Regions from separate parts of the Homo sapiens genome. Here region 2 is linked to region 1. Evidence: promoter capture Hi-C in 16 types of primary human blood cells and fetal thymus (Javierre and others, 2016). All regions are on one chromosome and are shown on one strand. Each heading gives the region's core, a stretch centred on a gene start or on the middle of the fragment in contact. The rest is flanking DNA. Distances are from core to core; before and after follow the strand shown.

Region 1 (2,884 bases), core at 100-2,599:
AATCGCTTGAGTCCAGGAGGTGAAGGTTGCAGTAAGCCGAGATCGCCCCGTTGCAATTCAGCCTGGGCGACAAAAGTTAAACTCCATCTTAAAAAAAAAAAAAAAAAAAAAGGCCGGGCACGGTGGCTCACTTCTGTAATCCCAACACCTTGGGAGGCCAAGGCGGGTGGATCACCTGAGGTCGGGAGTTCGAGACCAGCCTGACCAACATGAAGAAACCCCTCTACTAAACACACAAAATTAGCCGGGCGTGGTGGCGCATGCCTGCAATCCCAGCTACTCGGGAGGCTGAGGCAGGAGAATTGCTTGAACCCGGGAGGCGGACGTTGCGGTGAGCGGAGATCATGCCATTGCACTCCAGTCTGGGCAACAAGAGCGAAACTCCGTCTCCAAAAAACAAAACAAAACAACTAAATTTGAAGTGCAACAGTTTCTTCTCGTTTTTCCAGTTTTACAGAAAACCCAAAAGAAGGGCAGCTAAGGTGGATAATGATGCCTACCACGCACCCTAAGAGTAGGTAAAGGGGAAAAAATGAAATCCACGTGGGACTGCGAGTAGTTTTCGCCTTTTCCCGAAGACGCACACAATGCGCTTAGGTATACCTCGCGCAGAGGTCTCTGCAGAGAGGAAAGCCACCGTGAGAAGAGCGGGGAGCCCCCAGGCAAGAAGGCAGTGGCTTGTGTGTAGTGAACCGAAATGCGACACCAAGGAACTGCAACAGGATTCTCCTTTCCACTTGAAATGTGACTCCCAGCGAGACACCTACCCTTGACGCTCCCTGGACAGTGCGGCACGGTCGGGCCCACTAACCAAGGCAATTTGCGCCCGACCGAATCAGGTGCTTCAAAATCCCCCCTGGTGAGCCGCGCGTTAACCACACATAAAACAGTCAACGCAGAAGGAGCGAGAACGTTCGGCCGAAAAGCCCGGCACAGAGAAGGGAGGGGTGCTGAAAGCCGCGGACTGCAGCCGCTGGCCTGGCTGCCGCCCCGAAACAACGCCCACGCCCGGGAGAAGGGCAGGCTGGCGTCCAGGTAGGACTCCCTCAGGCCGCCCCGCCAGGGGCCGCGCCGAGCGGAGCGGCTGGACCCCAACCCTGCCGGCCGCCGCCGAGGTGCGCAGCCCGCAGCCCCACACCCACGGCCTTTGCAACACCCCAACCGTTGAACTGCGCCCCTACACGCCCGGCGTCTGCGGCTCCCAGGCCGGTGCCGATGACGTCAGACTTACGTCAGGCGTGACGCCACGGCTGGGAGGAGTGAGGACGGCGCGGGAGGGCGTTTCCGGAGCACGCGCCGGGCGGGGGCCGCTGACGTCGGGCTCAGGTGCGCGCGCCCGCCCGCACGGCCCAGTTGGCGGCGCGCACTCCAGGTGGCGGCCGGCTGCGGTGAGGGGACCGCCAGCGGCGAGCAGTCCCGGCGGCCCTGGGGTCTGCGGCCGGGGGCGCGGCGGGAGGGCGTCTGGGCCTGCGCTCACGTGACGGGCGGGGAGGTTTGTGTAGGGGCTGCGAGCCGGGTGGGCGCGGGCCCGGGAGCGCGAGGCTGACTGTCCGGCCCCACCCCTCGCGGGCCAGCCCTTCGCCGCGCGGAACCTTCCCTCGGGCAGGGGCCGGCCCCGCCGCTCACTTCCCGCGCCCGCTCGCCGCTGACCGGAGTTGTCTCCTCCTCCGCAGGGCCGCGGCCAGAGGGCTAGAATCCGCGCCTTCCGAGGGAGCCGCGCCCTGCGGGCCCCACCGTACCCGAGGGGATGGAGGGCTGCCCCCGAGGCCCCCGCGCGGCTCGCGGTCCCACGCCTGCCGGCCCGCGCTAGCTACTCGACTCGTGCGCTAAATTTATCCGTCACCCAGGCCTTGTCTCCCGAGTCATTGGCGTCGTGGTTCAAAAGAAATGGAAGAAAAGGAGCGATGTGACCGATTGTGTTCGGTCCTCCTGCTTTGAGGCCTGGCATTTGCAGAGGGAAACAGCAAGAAAATCGTGGGGATTTTGGAGGGGGGTGGGAGGGAAGGGTGGGGAAACGGAAACAAGGTCTTACATTTTATGTGTTTTTTTAAATTCTGCACTTTGACAGTGGTAGCAAAATAAAAGTAATCCAAAAGTTATTTTTCTATTGAGAAGAGAGAAGAGGTGGGTTTTATTTTTTTCCTTTTGATTCCAATCTTTTCTCCCAGTGACAAAGCATAAATCATGGACACCAGAGAATAAGGTGGACCTCAGGAATCCGGAAAAGACTGAGAAGCTTACATTCTTCCTCTAGAGGGAAGAGTGGGGTGTTTATAGCCATCTCTGGAACCTAAAACAAAAAACATGAGTTGTGTGCCATGGAAAGGAGACAAGGCCAAATCTGAATCATTGGAGCTGCCCCAGGCAGCACCCCCACAAATCTACCATGAGAAACAGCGCAGGGAGCTTTGTGCCCTCCACGCCCTCAATAACGTCTTCCAGGACAGCAATGCCTTCACCCGGGATACGCTGCAAGAGATTTTCCAGAGGTAGGGGACCCTTCTCCTTGGCATCTTGATACTGATATTTCTGGATTTCTGTGGGTGGGGCAGTGTCTCAGCTTCATAAACCTTCAAAGCTGTAGGTATTAGCTAGATTGCGTTAGCAGGTATAAGGGACACAAGACATGAAAAGATAATCACTACCATTTATCAGGCACTTACGGTGGGCTAGGAAAGTACTCATAGCCTCAGCTGTGTTTTCTTGAGTGATCTTCAACAGTCCCGTGGAATACGTGTTAATATGTGATGTTATTTCCATTTTACTGATGAAGACACATTTAGTTCAGTACCTCGCCCAAGATAACAAGACTTGGAGCTGGGGTTGAATTCTTATATCTATGCTGTTGACCACTATGCTATAATGCCTGTAAAGCTCTGCTGCC
Region 2 (2,700 bases), core at 111-2,610, 1.0 Mb after region 1:
CCTCTCGAGTAGCTGGGACTACAGGCTGTTGCCACTGCATCCGGCTGCCTCAGTCTCTTTACTTGAGAAATGGGACAATAACTTCCATCTCCAGAGTAATTTGGAAACCAAAGAAGAACACACACAAAGCTGTTTCATTAAGTTCTCTGTAACATGGGGGACTCTGGCTACAACTTACATCATCTGAACACCTACTATGTGCCAGGCACTCACCCTGATCACCGTCACCGGGCATGCTGAGCACTGCCATTTCTCACCCAGGCAGAGATGCTTGGAGGTTATGTAACTGAACACGATTACACAGCTGTGAAGCTGGAGCTGGACCTGGAACTGAGGTCAAACTCCACCGCCTTTGCTCCCCACACACCTGCCTACACCCTGCCTCTGGGAATGGTGTTTCAACCCTCACACAGGGGGACAATCCTCCCAGGCTTCCTCTCCAACCCCACCCCGATGGTGGGTAGGGCAGAATTCCGCCCAACTCCCTAAGTTACAAAGGGCCTCAGTTTCCTCATCTGTCCAACAGGGACCACACTGCTGCGCCTCACAGGATGACGGCTACAGGGATCAACCGCCCCCCACACCAAAGCACCCTGGGCCTCCCTCGCACTCTCCTGTTCCCCACCTGCCACCTGGAGACGCCTCTTCCCCGCCCCTCACCCTTAGGCGTGGAGGCGAATGCGCAGGTCGCCCCCATCTCAGTTTCCCCGCCATTCCCGCGCTCACCAGGGGTCCGGCTGCCGTCGCTCAGCGGGTGCCATGGGTCACGGTCGGTGGCCACGAGTAGGCACTCGGGGTCGCGCAGGTGCGCGCACGCCTCCCTCAGCTTGGCGAAGGAGAAGTGCTCGTCGTAGCCCACAAGCACGGCGCGCACGCGCGGGGCCGCGCCGTCCCCCGCGCTCGGGTCCCCGGCCAGGCGCAGCCCCGCGGCGCGCAGCTCGGCGCGCAGCCCCTCGCCGCCCAGCACGAACACGGCGCCCGGCGCGTCCGGAGGCCCGGGCAGGCGCTGGCGCAGCAGGCGCGCGGCGCACAGCGCGGAGCTGAAGAGCTGCTCGGCGCGCAGCCCCCCGAAGCCGAGGCGCGCGAAGCGCAGGGCCAGCTCGGGCCGCGCGCGCCGGCTGTTGTTGCTCACAAACAGAGCCGCCTTGCCGGCCCGCGCCAGCCGCTCCAGCAGCTCCGGGGCGCCCGGCACGGCGCGCTCGCCGTTCCACAGCACCCCGTCACAGTCGAACAGGACCCCCTGCGCCCGGCCCAGCACGTCGCGCAGGGCCGCTCCGCGCAGCCTCTCGCAGCGCGCCATGCAGCCGGCCGGCCGCCGGCCTCCCGCGCCGCGCTCTCTCCGCGGGCACGGCGCGCTCTCCCTGGCACGTTCCACGCAGCCGCCAATTGGCGCGCTGGAAGGACCGGGGGGCGGGGCGACGGCGTGGCCTGCAGCCAATGGGGGCGAGAGTCTGGGAGAGGAGCGAAGCCGCGAGCTAACGGAACTTGGAGAGAGGGGCGGATTCGTGGCCAACACCGAGGGGAAGGGACCAATGAAGAGCTAGCTTGATCCTTCTCCCCGTCCCTGGTTCTGCTGGACCAGTCGCCGCCGAGTTTCAACGCCGACTACACTCTTACGCGGTGGGAGACTGACGCTCTTCTTAACCAATAAGAATCTACAAACAAAACGCGAAGCGAAAGGCCCCGTGCCCTCCAGCCAATCAGAAGCTTAGGCGAGCTGGTTGCTGGGAGAAAAACAGATGTTAAATGAACTGCCTTTGGGTCGAATCTCATTGCCCCCTGAATCGTGGACGCTCCAGTTCAGAGCGAAGTCCCAAGAAACGTGTGTGTACGATGGGGTACGAGGCACATGGTGTCTTCTTGGGTGCTGGAGCCCTCGGTCTAGACCAGTAGTTCTTCACACTGCGTTAGAGTCCCCTGGGAACTTATTTTCAGATATCATTTACATATAGTAAAATGCATAGATCTTAAATGTACAGTTCAATGTCTTGACAAATGCTTTTGAAATCACCGATGTGTAGCAGGACAGATCCTCATGTAAGTGTTTTGGGTGAAGACTGGGCATTTTTTGGTTTGTTGGTTAGTTGGTTTAATTCCAGGGATTCTACCGTGAGCTAGGATAGGGTAGGGAAGCACTGGGCTAGAGGCTGGTAGGCTGTCACTGCAGCACGCCCCGGGAGGGCAGGATCCAGAATGGTCGTGGCCAATTGCCCAGAATAGTAATGGGGTGACCCAGGTTGGCTGGGTCCCTGTCTTAGGGAGGAGGCCTTGTGATCTGGAAGCAACCACAGGTCTTGGGACCTTTGAGGAGCCACTGGTCTGCAGTGTGGGGATGAATGAATTGTGAGCTGTGGTGTCACAGTTTTGAAGTTGTCTGCCAACTTCAGATAAGGCTGTGACCCCCAGGAGCAACTGGAGCTCCAACGACTTGGGAAAAACTGTACCTTGTACCCAACCTTGGAAGCTCAACTAGCTCCTATTCCCCAAGTGCCCTAAGCCTTTTGCTCCTGGCCTTTGCATAGATAGTCTCCTTGGCCTGAATGTTCCTTTTTCCTTTAAAAATTTCACCTTCAGGGCCGGGCTCGGTGGCTCACGCCTGTAATCCCAGCACTTTGGGAGGCTGAGGTGGGCGGATCACGAGGTCAGGAGATCGAGACCATCCTGGCTACGGTGAAACCCCGTCTCTACTAAAAATACAAA

Evidence for each region. The method cuts DNA at HindIII sites, captures the fragments that hold promoters and counts their contacts. A CHiCAGO score of 5 or more calls a contact.
Region 2: the fragment with the promoter of PDXP here is called in contact with the fragment with the promoter of JOSD1 in region 1 in 1 of 17 cell types (fetal thymus); the score reaches 8.3 in fetal thymus.

What each region holds. Positions count from the first base shown.
Region 1 is chr22:38,699,408-38,702,291 of GRCh38, reverse strand. It overlaps JOSD1 (Josephin domain containing 1), which reads left to right and starts at 1,349. Exons shown (of 5, transcript NM_001360236.2): 1 at 1,349-1,492; 2 at 1,674-2,489. The coding sequence starts at 2,305. RefSeq lists a silencer at 883-1,842. The HindIII fragment of the contact is 4,284 bases long and covers 1-2,238 here.
Region 2 is chr22:37,657,383-37,660,082 of GRCh38, reverse strand. It overlaps PDXP (pyridoxal phosphatase), which reads right to left and starts at 1,360. Exons shown (of 2, transcript NM_020315.5): 1 at 727-1,360. The coding sequence starts at 1,300. It overlaps PDXP-DT (PDXP divergent transcript), which reads left to right and starts at 1,706. Exons shown (of 6, transcript NR_109952.1): 1 at 1,706-1,828. RefSeq lists enhancers at 1-157, 984-1,485, 1,674-1,723, 1,734-1,803 and silencers at 864-973, 1,174-1,483. The HindIII fragment of the contact is 9,798 bases long and covers 1-1,709 here.